Regions from separate parts of the Homo sapiens genome. Here regions 1, 2 and 3 are each linked to region 4. Evidence: promoter capture Hi-C in 16 types of primary human blood cells and fetal thymus (Javierre and others, 2016). All regions are on one chromosome and are shown on one strand. The core of a region is centred on a gene start or on the middle of the fragment in contact, and the rest is flanking DNA. Distances in the headings are between cores, read along the strand shown. Region 1 holds the start of TTLL1 (TTL family tubulin polyglutamylase complex subunit L1). Region 2 overlaps TTLL1 (TTL family tubulin polyglutamylase complex subunit L1). Region 3 overlaps PACSIN2 (protein kinase C and casein kinase substrate in neurons 2). Region 4 holds the start of CYB5R3 (cytochrome b5 reductase 3).

Region 1 (3,011 bases), core at 310-2,809, 440 kb after region 4:
GGTCTCAAAAAAAAAAAAAAAAAACCAAGAATATGGCCAGGCACAGTGGCTCACGCTTGTAATCCCAGCACTTTGGGAGGCCGAGGTGGGCGGATCACCTGAGGTCAGGAGCTCGAGACCAGCCTGGCCAACATGGCGAAACCCCATCTCTACTAAAATTTAAAAAATTAGCGGGGCATGGTGGCGCGTGCCTGTAATCACAGCTACATGGGAGGCTGAGGCAGGAGAATCGCTTGAACCCAGGAGGCAGAGGTTGCAGTGAGCCGAGAGCGACCGCACTCCAGCCTGGGCAACAAAGCAAGACTCCGTCTAAAAATAAATAAATAAATAAATAAAGTAATAACAATGTCAGTGATGACTTCATGTTGAGCAGGGCATTCGTTCACAGCGGTATTGTCACTGTCCATCTCCACGCCCGCACTGGGTGACAGTACCATGCTCCACAGTGACTGCTTACCAGTGTCTGTAATTTGAGGGCAGAGAAGGGCCCATCTTTTTTTTTTTTTTTTTTTTTTTTTTTTTTGAGACAGAATCTCGCTCTGTCGCCCAGGCTGGAGTGCAGTGGCGCAATCTCGGCTCACTGCAAGCTCCGCCTCCCGGGTTCACGCCATTCTCCTGCCTCAGCCTCCCGAGTAGCTGGGACTACAGGCCCCCGCCACCATGCCCGGCTAATTTTTTTTTTTTTGTATTTTTAGTATAGACGGGGTTTCACCGTGTTAGCCAGGATGGTCTCGATCTCCTGACCTCGTGATCCTCCCGCCTCGGCCTCCCAAAGTGCTGGGATTACAGGCGTGAGCCACCGTGCCCGGCCGGGGCCCATCTTTTTGTACCGCCACAACCCGGCACCATAATGTGCTCATCAAACGTTTCCTGAGCAAAGAACCTGCTTTGCAAATGCCAAAAGGGCTAACAATGATAAGATACTTTCACTTCCAGAATTAATCTCCTCTAATGCCCCAGCTACTCTATGGAAAAGGATGACTACCCCGCCCTGCCCTCTTAGCTGATAGGGAATCAGAGAGGGGAAATGTCTTGGTCCAGTCATCTAGAGGGAAGACACAAGGCTCTTGTCTCCTGCCCTGAGTTCTCTCCACAGGTACATTGCGCCCTGCAAAAGATGCCAACAGAAACAACACAGATTGCAAACGAATGGGAAACGTGTAGGAACAATGAAAGTCTGGGATAACAAATAATAAACATAATGATGCAATTGCAACAGTCGGACAGCACGAGGTAAGTCATAGGAACTCAGCGGACGGAGAAAGGCACGGTGGTTAGCGCGGGCTTCCTGGAGGACGCGGATCCGGCAAGCAGCATCTGAACCGCATTTTCGCAGCCGCGTAGACACTGGCGCCCACACTCTCTCACCCATGCGCACTCGCCAGCCCGCGCGCAGCCACACCCTCGGTGCCCGGGAGGCGGCGGCCTGGGGGACAGGACCTCACCTGTGGGCTCAGAGCGCCGAGGGACTCGGAGGAGCGCCCTGCAGGGATGCCTCGAGCCGCGCCCTCGCCCCGCCTCCAGCCCCTCTCCGGCGCTCGCAGGAGTACGCAGCCGACTGCCAGGCGCACCGGCCCGCCCCGCCCCGCGCTGCACTCTACTTCCAGGGCGGCGCCCTGGCAACCCAGGACGCGACCGCCGGCGCTGCGACTATTTCCGGAGTCAGACTTGCCTGGGGCTCCTTTGGGCTCCATACCTCGGGCGGCCGCTATGCCCAGGGCTTGGATCCTAGGAAATGCCAGGCCGTCCACCCTCTCGGGGCCCAGAAAGGAGATTGAGAAGGGTCTGGAGCACGGGATTAAGTCTAAAAAGAAAGGTAGAGCGGTGTGATGATTAGGTCCGAATCCTGGGTTCGGTCTCAATCCGCTGTTTAGCCTCTCCTACCCCTTCTACCTCGGCTTCCTTATCTGAAGAAATGGTGATGTTGCGCCACTGCACTCCAGCCTGGGCGATAGAGCGAGACTCCATCTCAAATAATAATAATAATAATAACATAAAAATAAAATAATTTTTTTTAAAAAGTGTTTATCTGGGCCAGACTCGGTGGCTCACGCCTGTAATCCCAGCACTTTGGGAGGCAGAGGCGGGTGGGTCGCGAGGTCAGGAGATCGAGACCATCCTGGCTAGGCTGAGGCAAGAGAATCGCTTGAACCCGGGAGACAGAGGTTGCAGTGAGCCAAGATCGTGCCACTGCACTCAAGCCTGGGCGACAGAACAAGACTCCGCCTCAAAAAAAAAAAAAAAAGACGTTTATTATTCTCGTTATAGACCTGTGTTACCTCGAATTCTCTATACAATTATTCATTTTTAATTTCATCAATTTAAAGAGTTATGCAAACTTGTGCAACTTGTAAGTGACAGAGTCTGGCTTTGAACCCAGGACACCTGACCATTCATGCTGCTGCCTCTCAGGAGGGGTGGTGGTGTGCTTTCTTAGTGATGATTGGAGCTTTGCTAACATCACTTCCTATAATCTCCCACACAACCGCCTCCCAGGCCCAGAGCACATTCAGCGCATCATCATTTACTTTTGGCACCATCTAGTGGAACCAACACTTATCTGGAGTCCAAATTGCCAATTCATACCCTTCAGCTGCTGTCTGGTTGTGAGGCCTTGAGAAGTCCCAAGGCTTCCGACTACAGTGTTCTCACCTTAAACCCAGGAGATGAGTGAAGGCTTGCAAGACGTGGTTAGGGCCTGGCATAGTAAAGTGTTCAATAAACATTGTAGCCTTCCAGCATGTTGCCTCATGCCTGCAATCCCTGTACTTTGGGAGGCCAAGATGGGAGGATCACTTGAGGTCAGGAGTTCCAGACCAGCCTGGCCAATATAGCAAGACCCCATTTCTAAAAAAAAAAGAAAAAATATTTTTAATCAGCCGGGTATGGGGGCGTAGCCAGCAGTCCTACTCAGTTACTCAGGAGGCTGAGGTGGATCACTTGAGCCTAGGAGATTGAGGCTGCAGTGAGCTATGATCCCGCCACTACACTACAGCCTGGCCAACAGAACA
Region 2 (2,888 bases), core at 54-2,553, 420 kb after region 4:
AGTGGACGGTACGTGGACACCAGAACGTACAAGCGCAGGTCGAACTTCCTCCCGCCAATTAGTAACGGGTTGTTAATATAGAGAGAGATCACGTAGGCTTCCTTATTAGATTGAGACACAAACCTAAACATGGCAGAGAAAGTAAAAATTAGATGGTAAAAGATGCAATAACGAAGACACAATCCAAGAAAGGAATAACTGATAAGCCGGACTTCATTAAAATTAAAAAATTAAAGAGTTTTGGCTGGGCGCGGTGGCTCACGCCTGTAATCCCAGCACTTTGGGAGGCGAGGCGGGTGGATCACTTCAGGTCGGGAGTTCAAGACGAGCCTGGTCAACACGGTGAAACCCCGTCTCTGCTAAAAAGAAAAAAAATTAGCCCGGTGTGGTGGTGTGTGCCTGTAGTCCCAGATACTCAGGAGGCTGTGGCAGGAGAATCACTTGAACCCAAGAGGTGGAGGTTGCAGTGAGCTGAGATGGCACCACTGCACTCCAGCCTGGGTGACAGAGCAAGACTCCATCTCAAATAAATAAATAAGTAAATAAATAAATAAAGACAGTAAAAAGATCTGTGGTTGCCACAGACTAGGGATAAACAGGCAGAGCACAGAGGATTTTGAGGGCAGTGAAACTACTCCGTATGTTACTATGATGGTGGATCTGGACGAGCTTGGTGGCTCACGCCTGTAATCCCAGCACTTTGGGAGGCCGAGGCGGGTGGATCACCTGAGGTCAGGAGTTCGAGACCAGCCTGGCCAACATGGTGAAACCCTGTCTCTACTAAAAATACAAAAATAGCCAGGCATGGGGGCGGGTGCCTGTAATTCCAGCTACTCCAGAGGCTGAGGCAGGATAATCGCTTGAACCCGGGAGGCAGAGTTTGCAGTGAACCAAGATCCTGCCACCGCACTCCAGCCTGGGCAATAGAGCAAGACTCCATCTCAAAAAATAAATAAATAAAATAATGGTGGATCCATGTCACTATACATTTGTCTAAGCTCCCAAAATGGACAACACTAAGAGTAAACCCTAATGTGAACTATGGCCTTTGGGTGATGATGGGCTGGTGTCAGTCTGCCAATTTTTATTTATATATATATATTTTTGAGACACAGTCTTCCTCTGTCACCCAGGCTGGAGTGCACTGGCGTGATCTTGGCTCACTGCAACCTCCACCTCCTGGGTTAAAATGATTCTCCTGCCTCAGCCTCCTGAGTAGCTGGGATTACAGACGCCAGCCACCATGCCTGGCTAATTTTTGTATTTTTAGTAGAGACAGGATTTTGCCATGTCGGCCAGGCTAGTCTCAAACTCCTGACCTCAAGTGATCCGCCTGCCTTGGCCTCCCAAAGTGCTGGGATTACAGGCTTGTGCCACACACATGGCCAAATTTTTTTTTTTGAGATGGTCTTGCTGTGTTGCCCAGGCTGGAGTGCAGTGGTGCGATCACAGCTCACTGCAGTCTCCTGGGCTCAAGTGATAGTCTCACCTCAGCCTGGCAAGTAGCTGAGACTACAGGCATGTGCCACGACACCCAGCTAATCAGTTTGCTAACTTTAACAATTCTGGTAGGGGATGCTGATAAGGGGGGAGGCCGTGCATGTGTGGGGAAGGGGTATAGGAAAAAAAAAATCTCTGTATCTTCTTCAATTGTGCAGTAAACCTAAAACTGCTCTAAAAAAATCAAGCTACTGGAGGCCTGTAATCCCAGCACTTTGGGAAGCCGAGGCAGGAGGATCACGAGGTCAGGAGTTCAAGACCAGCCTAACCAACATGGTGAAACCCTGTCTCTACTAAAAATACAAAAATTAGCCAGGTGTGGTGGCGGGTGCCTGTAGTCCCAGCTACTCAGGAGGCTGAGGCAGGAGAATCGCTTGAACCTGGGACGTGGAGGTTGCAGTGAGCTGAGATCGCACCACTGCAGTCCAGCCTGGGAGACAGAGCGAGACACTGTCTCAAAAAAAAAAAAAATTAAAAAAAAAATCAAGCTACTAGAAAAAAAATGGATGGTAAAGACCAAAGGTGCATCTCGTCAGCTGGCAACACGCTCCCGGCCTCTCACTGTGAGGGGCTGGGTCATCAGGAAGGAAATGGGGGTGGGGTGTATCCATGGAGGACACACCCCCTGCCCCAGGGGACAGTGCAAGCAGCTGCAGGACAGTCCCCAGGAGTCCACTCAGGGAAATGCTCCTCGGGCCTGGCCATCTGGGGGCTAGCAAAGTGTAATTAGATTTAAGCATGGCCGGGCATGGTGGCTGACACCTGTAGTCCCAGCACTTTGGGAGGCTGAGGCAGGCAGATCACTTGAGCCCGGGAATTTGAGATCAACCTGGGCAACATGATGAAACCCTGCCTCTACAAAAAAGAAAAATTAGCCAGGTGTGGTCGTGTGTACCTATAGTCTCAGCTACTCAGGAGGCTGAGGTGGGAGGATCGCTTGGGCCTAGGAGGTTGAGGTTGCAGTGAGCCATGATCCCGTCTTAAAAAAAAAAAAATTTTTTTTTAGGCCACACACAGTGGCTCACCCCCTGTAATACTAGCACTTTGGGAGGCCAAGGTGGGTGGATCACTTGAGGTCAAGAGTTAGAGACCAGCCTGGCCAACATGGTAAAACCCCATCTCTACTAAAAATAAAAAAATTAGCCAGGCATGGTGGGTGCCTGTGATCCCAGCTACTTGGGAGGCTGAGGTAGGCAGATCGCTTGAACCTGGGAGGCGTGAGGTTGCAGTGAGCTGAGATTGTACCACTGTACTCCAGCCTGGGCAACAGAGTGAGACTCCATCTCAAAAGAAAAAAAAAAAAGTAAACATGCTATAAAATGAGAAGGTGTCTCCTGTCACCCTGGGAACTCCTGACAAGTGAGTCATCTCCCCACTGGAAAAGGATC
Region 3 (2,783 bases), core at 272-2,771, 320 kb after region 4:
GCTTGATAGTGCACAGCTGTGGTCCCAGCTACTCAGGAGGGTGAGGCTGCAATGAATCATGATCCCACCACTGCACTCTAGCCTGAGTGACAGGGTGAGATGCTGGCCCTTAAAAAAAAAAAGAAAAAGAAAAAAAAAAGAAAAGAAACTAGAATGACCCCCCGTTTCAACAAGTATCAACACATGGCCAATCCTGTTTCACCTGTGATGTGAAAACTGTAGAATGCTCACAAAATCACAGAACCCAAATGCATCTCCACCTGACCTGGCATGCCCCCTTCGACACTGGCACCACAGCCCAAGTCCTCACGCTGGGAAGAGGCACAAAGCAAGCAGAGCAGGGTCCTGGCCTGAAGGGATCAGCAATCTTTTGGGGAACCAGTGCCACCTGAATCACATTTAAAAAGGAGAACGACTAAAGTAAACCCGCAAGGTTAACATCACGGTGGTGAGTCATGGCAGTATCAGGTGCCTCCTGAGATGATGTAATGAAAAGGGCACTTCACCTCTGTGGGACTCTCCCCAAATTCATCCACCAATCTAATACTAGGAAAAATCATCAAGGACCTGGATGGGATCCTAGAACTGCAAGAAAACATCAGTGGGAAAACTGGTGAAATCCAAAGAAAGTCCATAGTTTATTCAGTAATACTGCATCAATGTTAATTTCTTAATTTCAAAAAATAAGCTATGGTTACATAAAATGTTAACATTAGAGAAAGTCAGGCAAAAGGTAGACAGGAACTCTATTAGTTTTGCAACTTTTCTGCACATATAGAATTCTTGTAAAATAAAAAGTTTATTATAGAAATAATAATACAAAAGTTTAACGAACATTCATTACGTCCTTTGCAAAAAGGAGTCAGGGACAATGTGGTCTTCTTTTTAAAATTTAGCCAAGGAAGATGAAGCCTAAAGAAATCAAATGATTTGTTAAAATCTTTAAGTAAGCAAGCACCTGGAAAGGAAGGCAGGGCCCCGTGTAAGCTGATGTCACCCGAGGTGCTCCATGGCAGTGCACCACCAGATATGGAGTGCTTGTGGTAACAAGCAGTGCTGACCATGAGATGGGAGGCTGGCCTGCAGCGCCTCCCCACGCCACCCACAGCTGTGCGGTCAGACAGCGACCCAGGCTCCCTGCACCACCCTGCCCTGCCCCCAGCCTCTCCACAGCCCTCTCTGCTACAGCCTACCCCTGCACCACCTCTCACCACTCAGCAGTTTCTGAGGGTCTGCAGGCTAACGCTAAGCTAAAAACAATGAAAGGAGGTGGCATTACAAACCACCATGATAAAAATATTCTCCCTCTCCCTCTCCCTCCACGGTCTCCCTCTGATGCCGAGCCAAAGCTGGACTGTACTGCCGCCATCTCGGCTCACTGCAGCCTCCCTGCCTGATTCTCCTGCCTCAGCCTGCCAAGCGCCTGGGATTGCAGGCGCGCGCCGCCACGCCTGACTGGTTTTTGTATTTTTTGGTGGAGACGGGGTTTCGCCGTGTTGGCCGGGCTGGTCTCCAGCTCCCGACCGCAAGTGATCTGCCCGCCTCAGCCTCCCGAGGTGCCAGGACTGCAGACGGAGTCTCGCTCACTCAGTGCTCTATGTTGCCCAGGCTGGAGTGCAGTGGCGTGATCTCGGCTCGCTACAACCCCCACCTCCCAGCCGCCTGCCTTGGCCTCCCAAAGTGCCAAGAGTGCAGCCTCTGCCCGGCCGCCACCCCATCTGGGAAGTGAGGAGCGTCTCTGCCTGGCAGCCCATCGTCTGGGATGTGAGGAGCCCCTCTGCCCGGCCACCCAGTCTGGGAAGTGAGGAGTGTCTCTGCCCAACCGCCACCATGTCTGGGAAGTGAGGAGCGTCTCTGCCCGGCCGCCCATCGTCTGAGAAGTGAGGAGCCCCTCCGCCGGGCAGCCGCCCTGTCTGGGAAGTGAGGAGCATCTCTGTCCGGCAGCCGCCCCGTCCGGGAGGTGGGGGGTAGCCCCCGCCCGGCCAGCCGCCCCATCCGGGAGGGAGGTGGGGGGCAGCCCCCGCCCGGCCAGCAGCCCCGTCCGGGAGGGAGGTGGGGGGCAGCCCCCGCCCAGCCAGCAGCCCCGTTCGGGAGGTGGGGGGCAGCCTCCACCCGGCCGCCGCCCCGTCTGGAAGGTGGGGGGTGCCTCTGCCCGGCCGCCCCGTCTGGGAGGTGAGGAGCCCCTCTGCCCGGCCGCCACCCCGTCTGGGAGGTGTACCCAGCAGCTCATTGAGAACGGGCCATGATGACAATGGCGGTTTTGTCCAATGGGGGGGGGAAATGTGGGGAAAAGAAAGAGAAGTCGGATTGTTACTGTGTCTGTGTGGAAAGAAGTAGACATAGGAGACTCCATTTTGTTCTGTGCTAGGAAAGATTCTTCTGCCTTGGGACGCTGTTGATCTATGGCCTTGCCCCCAATCCCGTGCTCTCTGAAACATGTGCTGTGTCCACTCAGGGTTAAATGGATTAAGGGCGGTGCACGATGTGCTTTGTTAAACAGATGCTTGAAGGCAGCATGCTCTTTAAGAGTCATCACCACTCCCTAAGCTCCAGTACCCAGGGACATAAACATTGCGGAAGGCCGCAGGGTCCTCTGCCTAGGAAAACCAGAGACCCTTGTTCACATGTTTATCTGCTGACCTTCCCTCCACTATTGTCCTATGACCCTGCCAAATCCCCCTCTCCGAGAAACACCCAAGAATCATCAATAAATACTAAATATATATATATATATTTTAAACCACCACCATTTTAGAAAAATAGTTCCTTATACATCTAGGAAA
Region 4 (2,721 bases), core at 193-2,692:
GAACACCACCAAAAACAGCAGGGAAGGGTTGGGTGGAGACCAGGGGAAGCTTTAGAGACACAGGCAGGACATTTCAACAATAAAGGAGGCAGATGCTTTCTGGGGAAAAATGGGCCGGGTGTTGCATGGAGGTTGGGGTGATGCCCACAGGTTCACCCTGGCCAAGGTTGCCTGGGGTCTGAACATCCCGAAGTTCTGGGTTGGGCCACACTTTCCTTAGCAACCACCCAAGCCAAGAGGCCTTTTGCCTGGATCCCCAAGGAGGAGACTCCAGGTCCTCCCCAAGGAGGGAGGACCCAGGTGCCCTCCAAGTGGCAGATGCCAGGCATAGAGGTAGAGGTGGAGGTGGAGGAGCACTGGGCTGATTCCTCCTGTGCCAGCCTCCCCACGCCTAGCGGGTCACAGTTGACAGGAGAGCTGCCCTCTGCAGCCGCAGCCTCCACATGTCCACACAGACTCAAGCCTCCAGCCTCACCATGGTCAACTTTTGAGAAACTGGGGAGAGGAGGTGGCCTGGGGGGAAGGGAAGGTGGCTCTAGGCCAGCCCAGGAGTGACAGCAGCAGAGTGGACTTTGAAACCCCATGGAGCAGGCTCCTTCCGGCGGCAGCGTTGTGGGACGGTGGCCAAGACTAGTTTGCATTTCCCCATCTGTGAAATGGGGCAAACAGCACTGACACCGCAAAGTGTGAGGTCCCCAGCACAGCTTGCAGGGTCAGTGGGAGCCTGGCCTTGATGGGAGCCTGGCCCACTGAGCATTGGGAGGATGCCCCCGTGTCATCCGGGTTCTGTTCCTTGTTGCTAAACGTGCAAAACCCTCTGACATAGTGACATCGCACACACACACACGTTCAGTCGCAGTCAGTGACATCGCCCATTCACATACTCCCGTACACACACACACACCCCATCACACGTTTCCATGCCCGCCCTTCACACCCACGGTCACACTCACACACACATTCACTCTCAAGCCATTCACACGCTCGCTCACACACTCACACTCAGCGGCACACACGCTCACAACCACGGGTCCCTCCAGCAGCCAAGGCCCCACGGCGGCCAGGGCAGGGCCCAGGTGCCCCCGGGTGCTGGGCTCTGGCGCGCCCCCCGGGCAGGAGGGCTGGGTCCCCGCTGCAGACTGCCAGGGCGTAAGTAGCGGTCACCACGTAGCTCGCCCAGGCCCTTGTGGGGTGGGGTGGGGCGCGGCGGGCTGGGCGGGCGAAGTGGGTGCGGCCGGGTGCGGCCCGGGTCCCGCGTCACCTCCCGCAGGCCAGCCCGCCCCCTCGCCGCCGGGTCCCAGTCCCTCGCGACGCCCCGCGGCCCCGGCGCCCCCTCCCCGCCTACCGTGCTGAGCTGGGCCCCCATGGTGGCCCCGCGCCGCGCTCGCTCTGTCGCCGCCGCCGCCGCCGCCGAGACCGTCGCGCCCGGGCCCGCGTCACTCCGGAGCAGGGGCGGGGCCGAGGGGCCAGGCGGGCGCGCGGGGCGGGGCGGGCGCGGGGGCGGGGACCGGGTCGCTCCGCCTGCTTCTGCCGGGGATGGAGACTGGGAACTGGGGATGCGGCCCTCTGCGCTCCGAGCTCTCCCGCCGCTGTGCTGCCCCGCGCGGGACGGTGGCCTCTCTGGGCCTCGTTCGCCGCCATAAAGGAAGCAAGATGGCGCCCCCCGGATGGGAGCGAGAATAAGAGGCGGAATCTTCCCCCGGCCTCCGAGACTGCAGGGGCCGGTCCTGCCTGGCCTGGCCTGGGCCTGTGCCTGCAGCTGCTCAGCGCGGCCCTTCCCCGGGCCTTTGAATTTGTAGTTCCCTGGGCAGCACTGTTCCCAGCTGCCTCGGGCCGGGTTAAATGCTGCGGTCTCAGCACGGCCCGCCCGGAGCCTCCTCGCCGGCGGCGCCTCCGCTCCCCACGCCATTGTCCCACTGTGGAGTGATCTTTGTCCCACTTAGCTGAAGGCCTCCTGCGTGTTTCCCCCACTCCCACCCCATCCCAGTGGACTGTGCGCTCCCGGAGGGCAAGGCCCTATCTGGTTTGAAGTCCCGTACATCCCCAGAGCCTAGCCACACAGAGCCTAGCATATAGTAGGTGCTCAATAAATACCTTTTTTTTTTTTTTTTTTTTTGGTAAAGCAGGGTCTCACTCTTGCCCAGACTGGAATGCAGGAGCCTGATCACAGCTCACTTTAGCCTCAACCTCCCAGGCTCAAGTGTTCCTCCTGCCTCAACCTCCTGAGTAGCTGGGCACATGCCACCACGTCCGGCTAATTGTTTTTTTTTTTGAGACGCAGTTTCGCTCTTGTTGCCCAGGCTGGTATGCATTGACGCGATCTCGGCTCACCGCAAACTCCGCCTCCAGGGTTCAACAGATCCTCCTGCCTCAGCCTCCCGAAATTACAGGCATGTGCCACCACATCTGGCTAACCAGCTAATCTTTTTTTTTTTTTTTTTTTTTTTTTTTTTGAGACAGAGTCTCGCCCTGTCCCCCAGGCTGGAATGCAGTGGCGCCATTTCGGCTCAATGCAAGCTCCGCCTCCAGGGTTCACGCCATTCTCAGCCTCCCGAGTAGCTGGCACTACAGGCACCCCACCGCGCCCGGCTAATTTTTTGTATTTTCAGTAGGGACGGGGTTTCACCGTGTTAGCGAGGATGGTCTCGATCTCCTGACCTCGTGATCCGCCCGCCTCGGCCTCCCAAAGTGCTGGGATTACAGGCGTGAGCCACCGCGCCC

The links. Contacts are between HindIII fragments. The CHiCAGO score rates a contact against its expected background, and 5 or more counts as called.
Region 1: a contact is called between the fragment with the promoter of TTLL1 here and the fragment with the promoter of CYB5R3 in region 4, in 2 of 17 cell types (M0 macrophages and M1 macrophages). The highest score is 6.5, in M0 macrophages.
Region 2: a fragment that was not itself captured here is called in contact with the fragment with the promoter of CYB5R3 in region 4 in 1 of 17 cell types (endothelial precursors); the score reaches 5.0 in endothelial precursors.
Region 3: a contact is called between a fragment that was not itself captured here and the fragment with the promoter of CYB5R3 in region 4, in 3 of 17 cell types (M2 macrophages, M0 macrophages and naive B cells). The highest score is 6.5, in M2 macrophages.

What each region holds. Positions count from the first base shown.
Region 1 is chr22:43,087,832-43,090,842 of GRCh38, forward strand. TTLL1 (TTL family tubulin polyglutamylase complex subunit L1) reads right to left here and starts at 1,560. Exons shown (of 11, transcript NM_012263.5): 1 at 1,446-1,560. RefSeq lists silencers at 1,328-1,667, 1,432-1,726, 2,475-2,534 and an enhancer at 1,432-1,726. The HindIII fragment of the contact is 9,359 bases long and covers 1-3,011 here.
Region 2 is chr22:43,064,202-43,067,089 of GRCh38, forward strand. TTLL1 (TTL family tubulin polyglutamylase complex subunit L1) reads right to left here. Exons shown (of 11, transcript NM_012263.5): 6 at 1-123. Among named protein-coding and RNA genes, the nearest start is that of TTLL1, 24 kb to the right of the region's middle. The HindIII fragment of the contact is 3,184 bases long and covers 1-2,888 here.
Region 3 is chr22:42,969,794-42,972,576 of GRCh38, forward strand. All of the region lies in intron 1 of PACSIN2 (protein kinase C and casein kinase substrate in neurons 2), which reads right to left. Among named protein-coding and RNA genes, the nearest start is that of PACSIN2, 44 kb to the right of the region's middle. RefSeq lists an enhancer at 580-1,567. The HindIII fragment of the contact is 4,275 bases long and covers 1-2,783 here.
Region 4 is chr22:42,647,950-42,650,670 of GRCh38, forward strand. It overlaps CYB5R3 (cytochrome b5 reductase 3), which reads right to left and starts at 1,443. Exons shown (of 9, transcript NM_000398.7): 1 at 1,346-1,443. The coding sequence starts at 1,366. RefSeq lists silencers at 954-1,303, 1,324-1,513, 1,824-1,923 and an enhancer at 1,618-2,431. The HindIII fragment of the contact is 5,222 bases long and covers 48-2,721 here.